Linked DNA regions of Homo sapiens: all the other regions are linked to region 4. Evidence: promoter capture Hi-C in 16 types of primary human blood cells and fetal thymus (Javierre and others, 2016). All regions are on one chromosome and are shown on one strand. The core of a region is centred on a gene start or on the middle of the fragment in contact, and the rest is flanking DNA. Distances in the headings are between cores, read along the strand shown. Region 1 overlaps CNTRL (centriolin). Region 2 has its middle 16 kb from the start of RAB14. Region 3 overlaps CNTRL (centriolin). Region 4 holds the start of MEGF9 (multiple EGF like domains 9). Region 5 overlaps RAB14 (RAB14, member RAS oncogene family). Region 6 overlaps CNTRL (centriolin). Region 7 overlaps CNTRL (centriolin).

Region 1 (2,811 bases), core at 280-2,779, 380 kb before region 4:
ATCAACAGCCCCAAGGTGATGCTGTACAACATGGGGTTGGGCTTGGGCTCTGAGGCTCTTGACTGTCACAGGATGAAATTAGAAAGCATAGGTATTGTTAACAACATGGCATTAAATGAATATTGCTTATTATTATTGGCCTCCACTGGTGAAGGCTTAAAGAATATAGCTTTAGACTTATTTAGTGTTTTAAAGTTTTTTTTAAAGCATTTTCACATCTATCATTTCATCTGAGCCCCCATAATACCCCTGTAAAGGAGGCAGTATAGGGATTGTTTTCCCCAAACAGTGGTTTTAGAGGGATTAAAGAATTCTCCAAGGTCATGGAAGGCAATTCTATAGAGGCCCATCTTTGAAGTCACATCTTTCATTTTCTATTCTACAACTGATGTTCATTAAATTATGGCACAATTTTCCCAATTTTAATACAAATTTAAATAAATTAACAAATTTACTAAGCAAATGCTTATTAAATACCTAGCTGTGAATAAATACCATAAGAAAATCATAAACTATATTCCAGAGAAAAATATACAACATCATCCAAATATGTAAATCATAACAAAGTTGCTCTATTATGAAAAGCTAGTGATCAACCTCCTATAACACCTAACATTATAATCAAAATAAACTGGTAAATTTGAAATTGGAAGTTAATACTGTCAAAAAAAAAAAAACCCAGAACTTTCTTCTAGGCATTCAGTGATCTGGATCCTGGCACAAAATGTGACTCTAGATAAGGGACTTAACCTGTCCTAGACCTTACTTGCTACTACCTAACTCATAGTGTTACAAAAATAATCCTTGTACTGCCTTCTTAACAAGAATGTTATGAGGCTTACATGAAATGATAAATGTAAAAATGCTAAGAGGTCAACCCTAGGTTGACCTAGGAACCCATGCAAAATGAGGACTGCTTGTATTTAATTAATCTAGAAAATCATGGGCTATGTCTGAATCTAGTGTTTAGTCAAAGGAGCAAAATCTTTAAAAGAAGAAATCCCATTTTTAAAAAACTTAGATATTTTTAATCTTTTATTTTTTAACAAGTCTAAAAATTCCTGCTATTTTGAATAACTTACCGATGATATCTTGTTGCCTTTCAAATTGAGGACTCGCAAAGATTTTAACTTCTTCCCTAACCATACTGGAATATGCTCAATTTCATTTCCTGCAAGGTTAAGCTTTTGCAGATTACACATATTTTCTATGCCTTCAATTTTGCTGGAAAGCAAAGGATAAAATAAAATTTAGTGAGTACAATTATAGAGTCTCTCCATTGTATTTTTAGAATAAACAGCTTTAGCTCCATGTTAGATTACTTTTCATAATGATAATTTATCAACTCTTTTCATAAATGAGAACAAAGAAAAGTGGCTAAAGCCAAATTTACCAGAACAGCTAAACTGCCAACTTTTTATTACTATGCCCAGGAATCCTATCAATCTTATTATTAGACTTTGCAACTCCATAACATAGAAAAGAAAAATGTGACCATGGCATTCTCACCGACTACTGTGAACAGTACTAGCAAACAGCCAGTGGAGACCTGGGAAACTCAATAGCACCCTGTCCTATCTGCTACATTCCTGTCCAAAAGATGTTCCTAATTATTGTCTTAAGTTATCATAAAAAGATTAGCTATGCCAGCAGGATATGGGAGCCCATAGATGATACTGTATTTAGGAATATAAGTAATTTAACCAGAACTTTTAAATAAAGCATTTATCACACATATTAATGAATTCTGATTGATGAAGGTTTTTCCCAAGTCACTTCTAATTTATTTGTCAATTTAATTCTTTGGTCAATTTTCTATACTGCACAAATACTTCAAAGCCTCTATCTACACTGGGTAAATATTTCTAAGCTTCTCTACTTTCAATTTTATTTTGCTGAAAATATTTTCATCAGAGTCAACTTTTTATACAAATTTTATAATAAGGGTTTGGTTCATTAATCATTTTTTTTCATTTCAGTTTTGTCATATCAGAACTTCTGCCATTGCTAGTCATTTTCTTGGCCATCATATTTACCAAGTCTAACTTGGGGGAAAAGCATGCAGATATTAAGAATTTCAAGATTTGATTCTTGTATCATTTTGTCTATAACAAGTTTTCTATATGAAGTTTTAGCCAGTGTCAGTTTTAGTATGTTTATTTCTCACAGTAATATATATTATGAATTGGAAACAGGATTGAGAGCATATTTCTTGTAGCAATAAGCAAAGAACATCAGAATCAAAACAGATTAGAACATCTTGGGGGTCAAAATGGCAGGGTTAAAACATTCTGCTTCATGTCAACATTCTTAATGTAATAAGGTAATAAATCACAGACAATATCTGGGAAAACTTCCTGTCAGAAATGAAATTAAGATACAATTTGGTGCTCAAAAATATATCTCTTTGATAATGCTAGATGTTATTCTGTACTTCAGTAATGCCAAAACATAAAGACAGTTACCTACCATATGTGAAGAGACAGACATTCATTTGATTGATGAATAAAGATAAAAATATCTTCTGTTTCTGTCAAATCATTCTTTCAGTAATGTGGATAACATTAATCTACCTCTCTAACAAAGCTATCTGCAATGCTGCCTAAAGATTTTGTTATATAACTCACCTGATTTTGTTATATGATAAGTTGAGTTCACGTAATTTTAACAGCTTGTCCAACTTTTCAATCTTCCCTATTAGATTATAGCTGAGATTCAGTACTTCAAGTTTAACACATTTTTCCAAATTCTCAATATACTAATTGGAAACAAATGAATGAATACTTTACACAACAGATGACTTGACATAAA
Region 2 (2,923 bases), core at 49-2,548, 500 kb before region 4:
CTTTGGTAAAAATCCCTTAACTTGGTGGTGTGCTGTGGCTCCCCTCTGTAATCCCACACCTTGGGAAGCCAAGGCAGGAGGATCACTTGAGCCTAGGAGTTCAAGACCAGCCTGGGCAACATGGTGAGACTAGTCTCTATTTAAAAAAAAAAAAAAAAAATCCCCTAACTTGAACCTTCTGGTATTTGGTGTGTTTTGGGGAACTGAGTCAGGAGACCGGGTAAAGAGAAGCAGCAAGCGCAGCAGCAGCAGACACAGAGCCCTGGCAGAACTGCCCGGCCAGAGGAGTTGGCCCCCACCAGGTGGATCTGTCCATCAAGGAAGCATCCTCAGGACTCTGAGAAACATCAAGGAAGTGAAACTGAATAAAGATATTGGACTTCAGGTGTCATGCAGGATGGATGCTTGGACAAAACTGGTAGGGTAACCTCCAAATACCAGATCATTTCAGGACCCTGGGAGATGAATATTATTGTCCTCCATTTTACATACAAGAAAAATGAAACTTGTGAAAGTTGCCAGTACCAAAATGGAGTCACTTAGGCTAAACTCTCACAAAATGGAGAGGGGAGGCCATGAAGGAAGGGTCCTCATGCATGTATGCCTACAACAGAAACTATCCAAGAAATTCCACATAAGCCACCTGGCTTGCACAGGGACATTTGTCCAACAGTGGCTGTCTCCACCAATAAGCTAATGCCAACTCCTGCAACAAGCTCCTGTAACCAATGGTCTTTTTTTCAAATTAGCTTACATGTACGTTTCCTCCTTTCTTTATTTTTTTTGAGACAGAGACTCACTCTGTTACCTAGGCTGGAGTGCAGTGGTGCGTTATCGGCTTACTGCAACCTCCGCCTCCCGAGTTCAAGTGATTCTCGTGACTCAGCCTCCTGAGTAGCTGCAATTATGGGTACACGTCATGATGCCTGGTTCATTTTTGTATTTTTAGTAGTTACAGGGTTTTGCCATATTGGCCAGGCTGGTCTTGAACCCCTGACCTCCAGTGATCCACCTGCCTCAGCCTCCCAAAGCACTGGGATTACAGGCATGAGCCACCGAGCCTGGCCTCTCGTCCTTTCTCTTAAAAGCTTCCTCTTGCCCCATCCCCTTTGGTGCACCTGTGGTCCACCACAGCATGTGCACCCAAAATCGCAATTCCCTGTTATTCTCAAATAAACTCTTTGTTTTGGAGAACTGGTCTCTCTGCTGTTTATTTCAGGTTGACAGACCTAAAATATAATACAATATTAAATGACTGCCAGACAATTCATAGCAGACCTATACTCCATGACCACCCTTCTTAAGAGCTCAACAAATGTTCTGAACATGCTTAGTCATAGCTAAACTGTGAGTCAGGGCATGAGGTAGACTGGACACATACATAAAAAGAATGAATAAGATCAGGATATGCAAAACAATATGGACAATTTGATCGTACTTATGTAAAAGAGAAAACACACACCAAAGTTATATCTTTATGTATGTACCCTTATATACGCAAAAGCTTGAAACAGACCTGGTAGCAGTATTAACGGTTGGGTAGAAAAGAGCAGAGAAAGGAGGGCTTGTTTTGTTTGAGGTTATAATAATAATAATAATAATAATAATAATAATAATAATACATTTCTATATTATTTGAAATATTTAAAAATTTAATTAAATTTAAAAAATTTAAAGAAATGGCTGTTGTGGGCTGAATTGTGCCACTCAGCCACATCCCAATTGAATTGAAGTCCTAACCCCCAGTACCTCAGAATGTGACTGTATTTAGAGACAGGGTCTTTAATGAGGTAATTAAATTAAAATGAGGTCACTAGGGTGGGCCCTAATCCAATATGAATGGTATCTTTATAAGAAAAGGAGATTAGGGGCCTATTGGAGGGTTTAGGTTGGGAGGAGGGAGTGGCTCAGGAAAAAGAACTAATGGGTACTAGGCTTAATACCTGGGTGACAAAATAATCTGTACAACAAACCCCCAGGACAGAAGTTTGCTTCTGTAACAAATCTGCACAGGTACTCCTGAACTTAAAATAAAAGTTATTTTTTTTTTTTTTGAGACGGAGTTTTGCCCTGTTGCCCAGGCTGGAGTGCAATGGTGCGATCTTGGCTCACTGCAATCTCCGCCTCCCAGGTTCAAATGATTCTCCTGCCTCAGCCTCCTGAGTAGCTGGGATTACAGGTGCCCACCACCACACCCAGCTAATTTTTTTTTGTATTTTTAGTAGAAACAGGGTTTCACCATGTTGGCCAGGCTGGTCTCGTGATCCACCCTGACCTTGTGATCCACCCGCCTTGGCCTCACAAAGTGCTGGGATTATAGGCGTGAGCCAATGTGCCCAGCCAAAGTTGAATTTTAAAAAAGAAATCTCCTTAAGTTAGAAAAATACTTTAAAAATCTAAATAAAGTGGAAGACAAAACCCAGAACTAAAAAAAGAAGAGGAAATTAGGATGCAGACACAAACAGAGGGAAGACCATGTGAAGACACAGGAAGAAGACAGTCATCCACAAGCCAAGGAAGAAACCAACCCTCAGAAGAATGCAACGCTTGGACATCTTGATCTTGGACTTGTAGCCTCCAGAATAAAATAATTTTCTGTTGTTTAAGCCACTGAGCCTGTACTATTTGTTACGGCAGTCCTAGCAAACTAATACAATGACCAAGGTAAAATTCCTGTCTTCCAGGAACTCCTAGCCTAGTGGGAGAAGTGGGTAATAGAATAATCTCACTATAATACCAAGAAAACAGGGAGAAGTCCTGCAAAATACAGAAGCAAGGTACTACGGAACCTGGGGGTAGGAGGATATTACAAGGCCTGGCAGGCATCACAGAGGAAGTGGCTTTTGAGCTGGGCCATGAAGGATAAGAAACAGAGAAAAGCAGGCAGGTAGGAGAGTTAGGGACTGTTTCTGGGGGAAATATA
Region 3 (2,784 bases), core at 23-2,522, 410 kb before region 4:
ATCCAGCAGCACATCAAAAAGCTTATCCACCACGATCAAGTCGGCTTCATCCCTGGGATGCAAGGCTGGTTCAACATACACAAATCAATAAACATAATCCATCACATAAACAGAACTAATGACAAAAACCACATGATATCTCAATAGATGCAGAAAAGGCCTTCAACAAACTTCAATTGCCCTTCATGCTAAAAACTGTCAATAAACTAGGTATTGATGGCACGTATCTCAAAATAATAAGAGCTATTTATGACAAACCCACAGCCAATATCATACTGAATGGGCAAAAACTGGAAGCATTCCCTTTGAAAACTGGCACAAGACAGGGATGCCCTCTCTCACCACTCCTATTCAACATAGTGTTGGAAGTTCCGGCCAGGGCAATCAGAAAAGAGAAAGAAATAAAGGGTATTCAATTAGGAAAAGAGGAAGTCAAATTGTCTCAGTTTGCAGATGACATGATTGTATATTTAGAAAACCCCATCGTCTCAGCCAAAATCTCCTTAAGCTGATATGCAACTTCAGCAAAGTCTCAGGATACAAAAATCAATGTGCAAAAATCACATGCATTCCTATACACCAATAATAGACAGAGAGCCAAATCGTGAGTGAACTCCCATTCACAATTGCTACAAAGAGAGTAAAATACCTAGGAATCCAACTTACAAGGGATGTGAAGGACGTCTTCAAGAACTACAAACCACAGCTCAACAAAATAAAAGAGGACACAAACAAATGGAAGAACATTCCATGCTCATGGGTAGGAAGAATCAATACCGTGAAAATGGCCATACTGCCCAAGGTAATTTATAGATTCAATGCCATTCCCATCAAGCTACCAATGACTTTCTTCACAGAGTTCGAAAAAACTACTTTAAAGTTCATATGGAACCAAAAAAGAGCCTGCATTGCCAAGACAATCCTAAGCAAAAAGAACAAAGCTGGAGGCATCACGCTACCTGACTTTAAACTATACTACAAGGCTACAGTAAACAAAACAACATGGTACTGGTACCAAAACAGATATATAGACCAATGGAACAGAACAGAGACTGCAGAAATAAATAACACCACACATCTACAACCATCTGATCTTTGACAAACCTGACAAAAACAAGAAATGGGGAAAGGATCACTAATAAATGGTGCTGGGAAAACTGGCTAGCCATATGTAGAAAGCTGAAACTGGATCTCTTCCTTACACCTTATACAAAAATTAATTCAAGATAGATTAAAGACTTACATGTTAGACCTAAAACCATAAAAATCCTAGAAGAAAACCTAGGCAATACTATTCAGGACATAGGCATGGGCAAGGACTTCATGACTAAAACACCAAAAGCAATGGCAACAAAAGCCAAAATAGACAAATGGGATCTAATTAAACCAAAGAGCTTCTGCACAGCAAAAGAAACTACCATCAGAGTGAACAGGCAACCTACAGAATGGGAGAAAATTTTTGCAATCTGCTCATCTGACAAAGGGCTAATATCCAGAATCTACAAAGAACTTAAACAAATTTACAAGAAAAAAACAACCCCATCAAAAAGGGGGCAAAGGATACGAATAGACATTTCTCAAAAGAAGACATTTATGCAGCCAACAGACACATGAAAAAATGCTCATCATCACTGGCCATCAGAGAAATGCAAATCAAAACCACAATGAGATACCATTTCACACCAGTTAGAATGGTGATCATTAAAAAGTCAGGAAACAACAGATGCTGGAGAGGATGTGGAGAAACAGGAATGCTTTTACACTGTTGGTGGGAGTGTAAACTAGTTCAACCTTTGTGGAAGACAATGTGGCGATTCCTCAAGGATCTAGAACTAGAAATACCATTTGACCCAGCGATCCCATTACTGGGTATATACCCAAAGGATTATAAATCATGCTACTATAAAGACACATGCACACATGTGTTTATTGCGGCACTATTCATAATAGCAAAAACTTGGAACCAACCCAAATGTCCATCAACGATAGACTGGATTAAGAAAATGCAGCACATATAAACCATGGAATACTATGCAGCCATAAAAAAGGATGAGTTCATGTCCTTTGCAGGGACATGGATGCAGCTGGAAACCATCATTCTTTGCAAACTATCACAAGGACAGAAAACCAAACACCGCATGTTCTCACTCATAGGTAGGAACTGAATAATGAGAACACTTGGACACAGGGCAGGGAACATCACACACCGGGGCCTGTCGTGGGGTGGGGGGAGGGGGGAGGGATAGCATTAGGAGATATACCTAATGTAAATGACGAGTTAATGGGTGCAGCAAACCAACGTGAAACATGTATACCTATGTAACAAATCTGCATGTACCCTAGAACTTAAAGTATAATAATAATTAAAAAGTATATAAAATCATGTAGAAATTACATATGAGGAGATAAAGCAAATGTGTTAAAATAGTAATTGGTGACTCTCGGTGAAAGGCAAATGTGAGTTATTTGTATTCCTCTTGCAACTTTCCTGCAAGTTTGGAGTTATTTCAAAATATAAGCTTTAAAAAAAAGTTGGACAACACTACAGCGTTGGCAAGGATGTGGCAAGAATGGTAGCCCCCACATTGCTGGTGGGAGTAGAAGCTGATAAACTCACTATGAAAAGTAATTTGACAATATCTACTGAACTTAATGAAGGATGGACATACTCTGACCCACAGTTCTGCTTCTGAGCATAGTCCCCATGTGTTCAAGATGTGTGCAGGAATGTTATGCTCAGCATTGTTTGCAATAGCATAACACTGGAAATCACCTAAATGCACC
Region 4 (2,964 bases), core at 367-2,866:
AAAATACACAAAAACACACACCAGTACACATGCACAGATTATTAAGACACAATATATGAAAATAGATACTAGCTCCCATACTCATAAACTCACACAGATACATACAACACTCATACACACAGACTCACAAACATGTTTATGCATTCATACACAGCCTCCCCCACCCACTACTCATGCAGGAAAATAAATGCATGCTTTAATTAACATACACGGGTTCACACATAAATCTCATCCTGCTGGTCTGGTTGAAGACCAATGACTAATGGGAAACCATGCACAAAGCCAAACATCACGTAGGGGAGGCCGGGATTGGGTTAGCAGTGGGGCTTGAATTAAGCCCCATCAGATGACAAACCCGCCCTGCCTGGCTTCCTCTGGAAGCTGCTGAGCCGAAGCAGCAGCGCCTGACCTAGCTCTGGATCCTGGGCGGATGATGCGAGGCTGCGTGCCCGAATTCCAGCTTGATTCAGGGTTTAGTGTCATCCAGGGTCAAGCTCGGCTATTAGCCCCACCCCAACCCCTGCAACCAGCCGGAGGCTCTGGGGGCACTGAAGGGCTGTGGCCTGGGGCTGCTTTCTAATCCTGGGCTTGCCCTGGCGCAAATGCTGAGAATAGTTAGCATTAATGAGGGTTACAACAGTGGGCCAGGCTCTGGGCTAAGCCCTTTACGTCCATGACTTAATTCTCACAACAGCTCTGTGAGGGGGGTGGGGGGTGAGGGGTGTCCTATCATCTCCATTTTAGTGGTGAAAAAACCGCGCTCAGGCCACAAAACCATTCAGCAAAAGACATCAAGTTGAGGTTCAACCCTGTCTGATCCTATTCTTCCCGGGGTTTAGGTAAGTGTGCTTGCGAGCCTGTCTCCTCCACGCAGGAAGCTTGCACCTTCTGCCCTCAGGGGTCTCCACCGCCCGGTCCCGCCCCCTTGTCCAGTCTGGCACAACACCTGGCCCACAGCAGGTTTCTGGTGAGGGCGTGGGTCTCGGTTCAGGGAGGCCCTCAGCAAGGGCCTCAGCTTCCCCATCTCTGAAATGGGAATGGCGGCAGAGACCTCGCAAGGCTGCGACCAGGCTCTCTGGAGCAGCAGAGGGCATGCCAAGCTCTACATCGTCGCTGCCGCTGCCCTCTCCCATCGCGGGGTTCCCGCGCGGTCCCCGCCCGAGCTGGGGTGCGGCGCTGGCGCCCCATTGTTCAGGAGGGCGGGGATGCTCCCGAGTGCTGATTCCACCCCCCGCTCGTGCTCGCAGCCCGGTGGAGCAGATGACTAGGCCCGGCGTCTGCCGCGCGGGGCGCATCCTTTGTCTGCTCCGCGGCGCCCGGTGCCCGAGGCCCGCGCCCCACTCTTTGGGCAGACAAAGCCGGGGCCGCCGCGAGCCCGGCGGGCTAGAGCTGGGCTCGCACCACCCTTCTCCCGCCTCACGGACCGCCCCCTCTCCTGGACGTCCTCTGATTGGCCTACGGGGCTACAAAGAGGCCGGGAAGCGGGCGGATCACGTGGGCGACTGTGGCTTCCCATTGGTTAGGCGCGGCTGCCAATCGAGGAGGGCGGGCGGTCCGCGCTCGGTCCGGTCGCTCCCTCCGCGCTGGGGCCCGCCCGCGGGGCCGGCCGCCTGTCAGAGGGAGGTGGCGATGGTGCGCCCGGTGGCGGTGGCGGCGGCGGTTGCGGAGGCTTCCTTGGTCGGATTGCAACGAGGAGAAGATGACTGACCAACCGACTGGCTGAATGAATGAATGGCGGAGCCGAGCGCGCCATGAGGAGCCTGCCGAGCCTGGGCGGCCTCGCCCTGTTGTGCTGCGCCGCCGCCGCCGCCGCCGCCGCCGTCGCCTCAGCCGCCTCGGCGGGGAATGTCACCGGTGGCGGCGGGGCCGCGGGGCAGGTGGACGCGTCGCCGGGCCCCGGGTTGCGGGGCGAGCCCAGCCACCCCTTCCCTAGGGCGACGGCTCCCACGGCCCAGGCCCCGAGGACCGGGCCCCCGCGCGCCACCGTCCACCGACCCCTGGCTGCGACTTCTCCAGCCCAGTCCCCGGAGACCACCCCTCTTTGGGCGACTGCTGGACCCTCTTCCACCACCTTTCAGGCGCCGCTCGGCCCCTCGCCGACCACCCCTCCGGCGGCGGAACGCACTTCGACCACCTCTCAGGCGCCGACCAGACCCGCGCCGACCACCCTTTCGACGACCACTGGCCCGGCGCCGACCACCCCTGTAGCGACCACCGTACCGGCGCCCACGACTCCCCGGACCCCGACCCCCGATCTCCCCAGCAGCAGCAACAGCAGCGTCCTCCCCACCCCACCTGCCACCGAGGCCCCCTCTTCGCCTCCTCCAGGTGAGTCCGGCGCTCCCTCTCGGGCAGGACCCGTCCTCACCTCAGCCCCGGCAATCTAGGGTTGGGCTCTTGCCTATAATTTATCGTTTGTTACCCCAAAGACACCCCAGGTTCCGGCTCCCGAGGGGGGATCCCAGGTCCAGCTAGTCTCCCTCCCGCCCCCGATCAATCTGGAAAGTCTTTTGTCCCCCGTGGGCTGTGCTCCCTCGGGAGGGGGTGGCTGCTGGGTGGAAGGCATCTCATCTTCTTCCCAACAGGGCTTTCTGGCCTTTTTCAGAGACCAGAATGGGCGCAAACTTTTGGGTTGGGTTCGCGCACCCAGCCTCTCTGCCTGGGTTATTTGGGGAAGTTTGAAAGCCCGCATAGTACCTCCTTCAACCACTGGGTCAAAAGCTGAGGGTAAGGAATTCCTCCCAAAGCTCCAGTTTCCCTGTTCATTTCTTCTTGTTTATGTAAATATCAGATGTGTGTGTATGACAGGTGGAAGAGAGGTAGTGAGAGGATTTTGTTTACAAACAGTAGTATGGACCACTTGAGGGCAAAAAATAAAAACAAAAAAGGCATTGTAATCCATGTTGTCCCTGCAAATAAGTGGATTCAGTAGGTCATTTGGGACAGGTGTGTATCTAGGCTGAG
Region 5 (2,755 bases), core at 55-2,554, 480 kb before region 4:
TCACAGTGGTGAAATGGTATGTTTCCCCAGTGGTGAAAACTGGTATGTTTCATGTTCAGGAGATGAGGTTGAGAAATCCTTTATTAAAGCAATATTAAGCATATTAATATTTTTAAGGAGTCAGTTGAATACATGGCACAGTTGTTAGTGTTTACTATGCATTTAGTAAATATTTCTCTTGGCAGCAAGGGTAGTTTATAGCTAAATTTTACATGCACTAATATCCTTCCTCTTTCTCTGATTTTTATTTTATCAGTCTACCTGTACATACCTGAAATAAGCTAATAATACCTTAGAGAAAATCATGGTCTTTGGAATCAGGCCTGGGTTCAAGTTCTAGGTCTACCATTTACAAACTTTATAACATTGGCCAAATGAGTGAATTTCTCCAAACCTCAGTTTCTTTAATTTTTTGCATGGACATAATGATAATGACTCTGCAGAGTTGTGAGAATTAAGTAAGAATTATAAAAAGTAGTATAGATCATTACATGGTTTACTCTCAAGTGTTCTCAAGAAACTTTTTCTAAGTAAATGAATTATAGTATTATAAGTTAGTATTACTAGTATTACCAGTCATTTATATCTATAAATTCTGACTGCAGTGCATCCTCTGAATGTAATTCATGTATCTTATTCAGAATATTAAATTATAATTAAGCGAGTGAATACTGCAGAGCTACATGGTACAGCTGATAACCATGTGGAGGAGGCACGACGGTGGAGAGGGCAGGATGGTGTGGTGGTTAAGAGGGGATCTCTGTAGTTAAAACAGTCCTAGGTTCAGTACAGACTTGGCTGTGTGACCTGGGCATGTTACCTCTTGAGTCTGTGTCCTCATCTGTAAAATGAGGATAATAATTAACTATGTTATAGGATAGTAGTAAGGATTAAATGAAATTGTATGTAAAATATTTAGCACATTGCCCGGCATATGTCAAGTACCCAATAAATAGTAACTCACAATTGTATTTCTTATTAGTTTGCAAATTGTTGATTATGTGTTAAATGCCTGTTGTCTAAATATGTGGTACTTTTTTTCCTTTAAAGGCAATAAAGATCTTTTACTTACATATGAACTTGATTCGAATACTTTCTGTAAAATGTGGAATAAAGTGAATTTTAATTGTCCCGGTAGTTGTATACAAGTTATAGAATATTACCAGGATTTTTTTTTTCATTTATGGGGATTGTAATGTTAAGTGGGCTCATGTTTTCAGAGTTTGAACCAGACCAGCATTTCCTGTCCTTTTTTTTAGACTCAAGAGTTCTCTAAGTAAAGCAAAAGTACTGTTAAATAATAGGGGAAGAATTTTTTCCCTTCCAAAGTTAGGTAAAAATATATTCCTCACCTTAACAATAGTATGTTTCATGTTCAAGAAATGAGACTGAGAAATCTTTTGTTAAAGCAACATTAAGCCTATTTAGTATTGAATATAATTCTACTGCAAATACTTTTGACTGAAATGTATTAATATCAGTCAACTATGGGAATATATTTAAATCTAGACAGTATCTTCTTAGAATAAGAAAGGGAAGACCTGTTGTGAGTGTTGGTGGCTACAGTGTTAAATGTTTTCTGCCTTTGTTTACTGAAATTAGTAAGTTTGAGTAGTTTTCCTTTAATTCTGCTTTTATGGTTTTTATTTGTAATTTTTAAAGAAACGAGCAAGAAAAATGTGTGGTGTGGTGAGACAGAGCCCTGGTATTAAATCCGAAATAGTGATCATTTCTTTTATTTGGAAATAGTTTCTACTATATGAATGTTTGTAATTTTAAGATACATTTTCAAAATTAGTTATCTCACATTTAATGAATGTATGATAATTAGCAGGTACACAAATTAGTACAACTAAAATTGGGTCACAATTTTATGATAGTCTTTAAAGCATTTGAAGTAGAAATTTGGGATTGTTAGAAGTCATAGCTTTAACATAAAATAGAAGGAGCAAAGTATGTACAGCTACAACCTTTAGTTAGAAGAGGGAAAGAAATTAGGAAAATCAAGGGAGAAGAGCACAGAAGAGACAGTAATTTGAAGGTGACTAAGTGATTACTTTTACCCAGGTTTGAATGGGGAAAGAATTTAGAAGAATTAAAAATTGATTAGAAGAGTCGGAAGAATTCAAGTTAAGAAGTTAATAATCTTTAAATATTTTTAATGTAAGAGATTACTTTTCCCCCTTGTGTTTGGCATCTGGTTCAGAGATCAGGTAAATAATCCAGACCAGTTTTAGTCTCAGGACCAAGTTCATTCTTAAAAGTTTTGAGTTCCTAGTGCCTGGAAAAGGGAATAAAGTTGTTGTGATGTTCAGAATCAGTTAATCTAACTAGAAAAACTCCCTTTCCTGAAAGAACTGGTTAAGGGAGTTTTCTGTGATGCAGGAGACTGATTATAAATGTGTTAGAACATGCCAAACTGGAATGGGTAACAAGGCTTCTACTTTCACTAAATGTAATACAGATAGCTAAGTGAGAAGACTGTAGTGTGTGGAAGTGATTAATACTTTACTGTAATTAACAACTTCCTCTTCCCTTATAATAATACACTTGTTTTAAATATATATTCTTTCTACGGGTTCAATGTTGTTATATAGAACTTTTGCTTGAAATATGGTATATAGTAAGGTGATAATTTCAGTAAATAAATTTCTCCAGTCATATTAAATGTCTGGCTTGTGTAATGTGACATTGACAGAAACACTAAAAGCCAGGCTTAAAAATACTGTAAGTCAGATTTTTTTAAATGGGTGAA
Region 6 (2,718 bases), core at 154-2,653, 460 kb before region 4:
GTAATTGAAGCTGGCTTTTAAGCCCTTGTGCACTCTACTCTTCTCTCACTACTCTGGGCTGTCTCATCCCCAAAGCTTCCCTATTCAATGCCCAGTGCCTCTCACACTCCTCCTCGAACCCTGCCCTAAGGCCCATGATGATTTTGGCCTTTACCTGACTGGGTCCACCACAGATGGTGTTAAGATAATCATATTCAGATGGCCCTGCTGCTAATGGCCCTGCTGCTAATTAGCTGTGTGAACTAGGTAAGTCACTTGCCCACCTTGGGCACATTAAAGAGGCAACTGTCCTTGAAAGCTCCTTGTGGCTCCACCATTAAAATATACTGCTCTGTGGTAAAGATAGATTAGCCCGCAAGTCCTGCTGTTGTCCTTTGCTATGTCCTTGACCAAATCATTTATCATTTTGTACAGATTCCTTATCTATATAAAAGGATAAGTCCTACCTCCAAGGATGTAAAAATTAGATGATATATATAAAGTTTTGTATGTGCACACAATAGGCACTGGAAAATGGAAGCTGTTACCTATCTCTGACAGTTGTGTGTGCTACTACTTACCAGTTCCATGAGTATATTTCATGTTCCTCTTAAATGCTTATTAACCTTATCTAAGCTCACACAGAAAACCTTTGTGAAATTCAGGGTTTTTATAGACCTTAGGTTAAGAGGTCTGAATTCCAACTCTGTAAATGTAAGTTACAAAATGCAGGGAGACATACTAAACTAGGACTCATATTGGCCTCACAGGTCTAAGCTCTTTATATTGACAGAGTAGGAAATAAATAAATCCAGAAGTGGAGGACATGAATAGTAGAATTAACTATATCCCTGCCAGGTCATCCAATCTGCAGTCGTAGTCTGTTTCCTAAGCCATCAGCTTATCTACCTCTACCAAGTCTTTGCTAAGACAAGTTTTTCAGAGAGTTGAAGGCGGCATAATCTATATTTTTCTGAATCTCCTCTAGATTATACACCCCACGGCTTTTAAGTACTTTCTATGTAATATATTAAATCCTATCTTACGAGTTTCCTCTTGGCTCAGCGTGGTGGCTCACGCCTGTAATCCCAGCATTTTGGGAGGCCGAGGCAGGAGGATCGCTTGAGCCCAGGAGTTTGAGACCAGCCCTGGCAACCCAGCAAGACCTCCATCTCTACAAAAAATTTTAAAAAGTGGCCAAGCCAAGTGGTGTGTGCCTGTAGTCCCAGCTACATGGGAGGCTGAGGTGGGAGGATCACTTGAGCCTGGGAGGTCAAGGCTGCAGTGAGCTGTGATGGTACCAATGCACTCCAGCCTGGGCGGTAGGGCAAGACCTTGTCTCAAAAAAGACAAAAAACAACCTCAGGCTATTGTTTTGTTTTTAAAAAGAGCTGCTGCTTACCTGATTTTGTCCAAGTTGAGAGTCCTCTGTGAGGGAAGACTCCAGCTGAGACAGACTGGGTGATGACGCTGAATCTGCAGAGGTGCTGGTGACCAATTCCCCTAAAGCATCTACTTGTCTCCTCAAACTGTGTAAAGTGCCCTCTGTCTGCCGCTTTCCTTTAATTAATACTTCTGCTTGCTTGGACATACAGTGTCGGAGTTGGGCCTGAAAAGTGTGATAAGACTTAGGGTTTTACACAGAAGAAATGTACCAGAACTGCCGCTCAGCTTCCTCACATACATTTGATAGGCAAATCTGGCTAACAGTAGGAATGGCTGTCAAAAATGCTCATCTTTAAAAAGAATTGTAGGAGGTGCCAGGTGGATACTTAGTGTGCATAAACCTTTACTTTTCTGTGTTGTCATTAACGGGGTCTTTCACTTGGCCCAGTTTTTCCATGCTAGCAGTGCTTAGGATTTCTGTATCCCTTGCTTCTCCATTAAATTATTGCCTCATCTCTTTTTTCCTTTTCTGTTATGACTGAGAAGATCAGTTTATACTTGACAACTGGAGTGTCTCCTGATTATGTATTTTTTCCTAAGTCTTAGTTTCTTGTCTATAAATGATTAGGTATTTAATCCTCAACTTCATACTACTTTTTGGCTTTTGCCCCTGCTATAATCAAATTATTCTCTCAAAGTCTATAGCAGCGCTGTCCAACAGAACTTTCTGCAATGATGGGAATGTTCTACCTCTGGCTATAAATATAGAAGCCACTAGACACATGTGGCTATTAAGCACTTGAAATGTGGCAAATGAATAACTGAATTTTTAACTTAATTATAATTTATTAAAATTTAAATAACCACACATGGCTGGAGACTATTGTTGGACATCACAGGGCTCCACTCAATACTATAGCACTGCACTCTCTCATCCCATGCTGTCTACATAGCCATTCCCCCCACATAAATGTAACCTCCCACCTATACTCTTAACTCTCAAATCTTTAGGTCAACACTGATCAGTAATCCTAGACTCCTATTTTTGGCTGCCTACAGACAGATATCCTTCCCTGGATATCTCACAAGGCCTTCAAAGTCAACATGTTCTGAGCCAAACAATTCCTTACCTGACATTCAGCCTACTTTTCCAGTATCCCAAATCTTTCCTGCCACCACTGGCCTATGATAACCTTACAGTTCATCACTGTGTTTCTACTTCCTCTCCCAAATACTTAGATTCTATCGGTTCTAGCTGAGGTAAAGCAGCATTACATAGGTTAAAGAACACTGGAGTCAACACAAGAAGTCATGGTTTTGAACACTGATTGCCATTTACTGTGTGACACCAAC
Region 7 (2,918 bases), core at 60-2,559, 440 kb before region 4:
TAAAATCAGGAGCTAATATCCTAGCCCCCAAGAGTCAGAAAAGCCAGGCAAGGAGTGCAAGGGTGAAATGCCTAATGAAAACCTTGAGCTCACATACTTAAAACCACTCAAATCACAGTGATCACAGTAAGAACAACAATATGATAATCATGATCATCCCTCAGGTTACAGTTTTCCAAGAACTTTTATTTTTATACCCTAATTCCATTTTGACATCCTTGGTGATGGAAGTTAGTCAGAGATTTTTAAAATGTATTCATTTTTAAAATTAAAAATTCGTTGCAATTTTAAAGACAATACGTATTTGTTTACAAAAAAAAAAGAAGACCATGCAGATATGCAAAAGGAAGACAACAGAAAATACTCAAAATCCCCCCTTATCAGATGACCACTTTTGTACTTTGGTATTGACTAAAAATACAACCATAAGTGTTGATAAAGGCATTTAACAGAAATGATCTCATAGAGTATACCATGTTTTGAGACCCACTTTTTTTATTCAGAAGTATTGTATTGAGTTGGGATTCAAATTTAGTTCAGACTTCATGCTTAACAACTATAATACATAGCCGCATTTATTCTTTTCTACAATTAAACATGTATTACTTTTATAATCATAAAGTGCTGTGTCAGTTGTTTTTTCAAGGTGTCTATTGCCATACCTGGCTTTTCAGCTTTTCCAGCTCGGCTCTTTTGGCCTGAAGAAGCACCTCAGATTCTTTAAGGACCTGCAGGTGGTGATCCTCATTGCGTTCTGCCATCTCTATGTCTTTCTGTAGTTTCTGAAGCCTACAAAGCACCAGCAACACTAGAGCAGATCCTAAGGGACTCGGAACCCCAGAGCTGTCTTCCAGCACAAACCCCTTGTAGCCCTACAGAGGCCTTACTTACTCTTCTGTCAGTTTTTCCTTCTTCTTGCTTAAACATTGGAAGTCTGAGTCTTTTGCTGCTACAATTTTGTTTATTTCTTTCAAGATTTCTTCTTGCTTGATTTTGTGCTGCTCCAAATCCTTTGCATCAGCCTGGAGCGATCTAAAGCACATTGCTTTATTCCCCCCAGGTCCTGTAGACTTACCATGCATTATTTATCATAAACCAATTATTATCCCCTTAGAAGCAAACTTTTCATTCATCTCAATGTATACATCAACGGCTTAGGGAATCCACCTACCTTAGCTGCTGATCAGCTTTGACGAGGTTAACAGCAGTTTCCTGAGCTCTCCTTTCTAATTCCTCAGCATCTGACTCAGTTTGCAATAAACTTCTCTTGGCATCAGTGAACTTTTCAACAGCATTTTTTGTCTAGAAAAGAAACTGTCATTAAAAGCCATTCAGTTACAATACTCACTCACAGCTACTGGCCATGTAAACCAGTACAGCTCTTTTGGAAAACAAGATGGTACAGAAAGACATAAAAATGTCCATTCACTGTAACTCTAATTCTCGGTAAATAATTCAGAAGCAAAGAACTACTATATAAAAATGCTCAATGTATAATAATATAAGACCTGACAAATAATAATAGGCTAAGTGATAATGCATTAACAAAGTGGAATACTGTGTAGCCTTTCAAATGATCAGATGACAATGTAGCAACACGGAAGAATGTTAATATTATGTTGGCTGAGAAAAATAAATTTAAAATGGTATAAGCACTGTGAGAGCAACTGTGTAAAACTACATGTGTCAACAAAGACAGAAAGACTATATAAAAATAAATACAGTCATTTGAAAGTAGTGGAACTAAAGATGCTTTTTATTTCAAAATAATCTGTAATACTATTATATCATTTTAAATATTAAAACTATCTACCCAACTAAGTGGGAAGGAAGTGATTTTACCAAGATTTCCTCCACACAGAAATTCTTGCTGCACTCTATAGTTATTATCAAGCGAAGTAAAAATGCATTGATCTGGTGATAATGTAATTACGGCTGACAAACACAAACATTAAATACTTTGCAAATGTTTAAAATCTTCCTATATAAGATTTGGTAAAAACACATTTGTTTTAATCAACTTGGTTTCTTTTTCTGCCTAACATAAGATGCTTAAAACAATGACATCAAAAGTTCCAAAAATAAATAGAGTGTGGTTTGCACTTGGTTGAGCAGTGACTCACCTTCAGCCAAAAAAAACTGAAGTCTGCCATTGTACTAAAGCCAGAGGAGTCCGTATGTTAAATTTGCCTATTAAATATCTGTGTGGATGCAAAAGGGTTGGCAAGCTCCCAGAGAGCTACATATTTTACCATACGTCTTTCCATTTCAGATAGCTTGTTTCTGTCAGTTTCACCAGCAAAGCACTGGATAAAACTGGCTATGCATTCCAGAAAAGCCACCAAATAGTTTTTTGTCTCCTTCTATGTCAGGTTTTAACATGTCTGGCACACTCCTTCCAAAACACCACTACTTTCTCTCTCCTCCTCCTTCTTACCAAGCTGCCTCCCTGAGTCATTTTGGGAGGATGAAGGTGAAAGAACTTACCAGCCTTGGTTGACTTACTACCTCTGCCTACTACCACTGCCATCAATTTTCTTTTGATGATTTTATATATCTATACCTATATATATTAATATATAACCAAAATATACCAAAATTTATAATCAAAATATACCAGTGATATTTTGATATATTATCAAAATATCTTATTATATATTATTATACCAGTGATTTTTTTTCCTCTAGTTCTGCTCACATCTATTTTCTCTCACAGTAATCCAACATATGACAACAGAAGGAACAGCTCATCTGAAAAGGACTTTTTCCATTCTTAATTACTCACAGAATTTCTTTAATAAATAATTTAGTTCCTAGGTAATAGACTGCTTTTAATTTAAATAGATTCATGTTGAAATAGCAAAATACAAATAATAGTTCCTGAGGTGTTTCATGTGGGTAAGGAACTCTTTTCATCC

Evidence for each region. The method cuts DNA at HindIII sites, captures the fragments that hold promoters and counts their contacts. A CHiCAGO score of 5 or more calls a contact.
Region 1: a fragment that was not itself captured here is called in contact with the fragment with the promoter of MEGF9 in region 4 in 8 of 17 cell types (monocytes, naive CD8 T cells, naive CD4 T cells and 5 more); the score reaches 8.0 in monocytes.
Region 2: a fragment that was not itself captured here is called in contact with the fragment with the promoter of MEGF9 in region 4 in 4 of 17 cell types (total CD4 T cells, non-activated CD4 T cells, activated CD4 T cells and 1 more); the score reaches 5.8 in total CD4 T cells.
Region 3: a contact is called between a fragment that was not itself captured here and the fragment with the promoter of MEGF9 in region 4, in 6 of 17 cell types (total CD4 T cells, total CD8 T cells, monocytes and 3 more). The highest score is 7.2, in total CD4 T cells.
Region 5: a fragment that was not itself captured here is called in contact with the fragment with the promoter of MEGF9 in region 4 in 11 of 17 cell types (monocytes, naive CD8 T cells, total CD8 T cells and 8 more); the score reaches 12.8 in monocytes.
Region 6: a fragment that was not itself captured here is called in contact with the fragment with the promoter of MEGF9 in region 4 in 6 of 17 cell types (total CD8 T cells, naive CD8 T cells, monocytes and 3 more); the score reaches 7.6 in total CD8 T cells.
Region 7: a fragment that was not itself captured here is called in contact with the fragment with the promoter of MEGF9 in region 4 in 6 of 17 cell types (monocytes, naive CD4 T cells, total CD8 T cells and 3 more); the score reaches 12.5 in monocytes.

The regions. Positions count from the first base shown.
Region 1 is chr9:121,094,835-121,097,645 of GRCh38, reverse strand. CNTRL (centriolin) reads right to left here. Exons shown (of 44, transcript NM_007018.6): 5 at 2,628-2,758; 6 at 1,083-1,224. Among named protein-coding and RNA genes, the nearest start is that of CNTRL, 21 kb to the right of the region's middle. The HindIII fragment of the contact is 686 bases long and covers 1,187-1,872 here.
Region 2 is chr9:121,216,497-121,219,419 of GRCh38, reverse strand. It overlaps a transcript of GSN not described here. Among named protein-coding and RNA genes, the nearest start is that of RAB14, 16 kb to the right of the region's middle. The HindIII fragment of the contact is 416 bases long and covers 1,091-1,506 here.
Region 3 is chr9:121,127,243-121,130,026 of GRCh38, reverse strand. The region is part of intron 14 of CNTRL (centriolin); the gene reads right to left. Among named protein-coding and RNA genes, the nearest start is that of CNTRL, 54 kb to the right of the region's middle. The HindIII fragment of the contact is 2,498 bases long and covers 24-2,521 here.
Region 4 is chr9:120,713,122-120,716,085 of GRCh38, reverse strand. It overlaps MEGF9 (multiple EGF like domains 9), which reads left to right and starts at 1,616. Exons shown (of 6, transcript NM_001080497.3): 1 at 1,616-2,328. The coding sequence starts at 1,728. RefSeq lists a silencer at 1,079-1,928. The HindIII fragment of the contact is 2,825 bases long and covers 881-2,964 here.
Region 5 is chr9:121,194,607-121,197,361 of GRCh38, reverse strand. All of the region lies in intron 1 of RAB14 (RAB14, member RAS oncogene family), which reads left to right. Among named protein-coding and RNA genes, the nearest start is that of RAB14, 5.9 kb to the left of the region's middle. The HindIII fragment of the contact is 3,446 bases long and covers 1-2,755 here.
Region 6 is chr9:121,173,888-121,176,605 of GRCh38, reverse strand. CNTRL (centriolin) reads right to left here. Exons shown (of 44, transcript NM_007018.6): 43 at 1,382-1,588. Among named protein-coding and RNA genes, the nearest start is that of RAB14, 27 kb to the left of the region's middle. The HindIII fragment of the contact is 2,652 bases long and covers 78-2,718 here.
Region 7 is chr9:121,155,854-121,158,771 of GRCh38, reverse strand. CNTRL (centriolin) reads right to left here. Exons shown (of 44, transcript NM_007018.6): 28 at 1,172-1,302; 29 at 892-1,032; 30 at 663-789. Among named protein-coding and RNA genes, the nearest start is that of RAB14, 45 kb to the left of the region's middle. The HindIII fragment of the contact is 9,656 bases long and covers 1-2,918 here.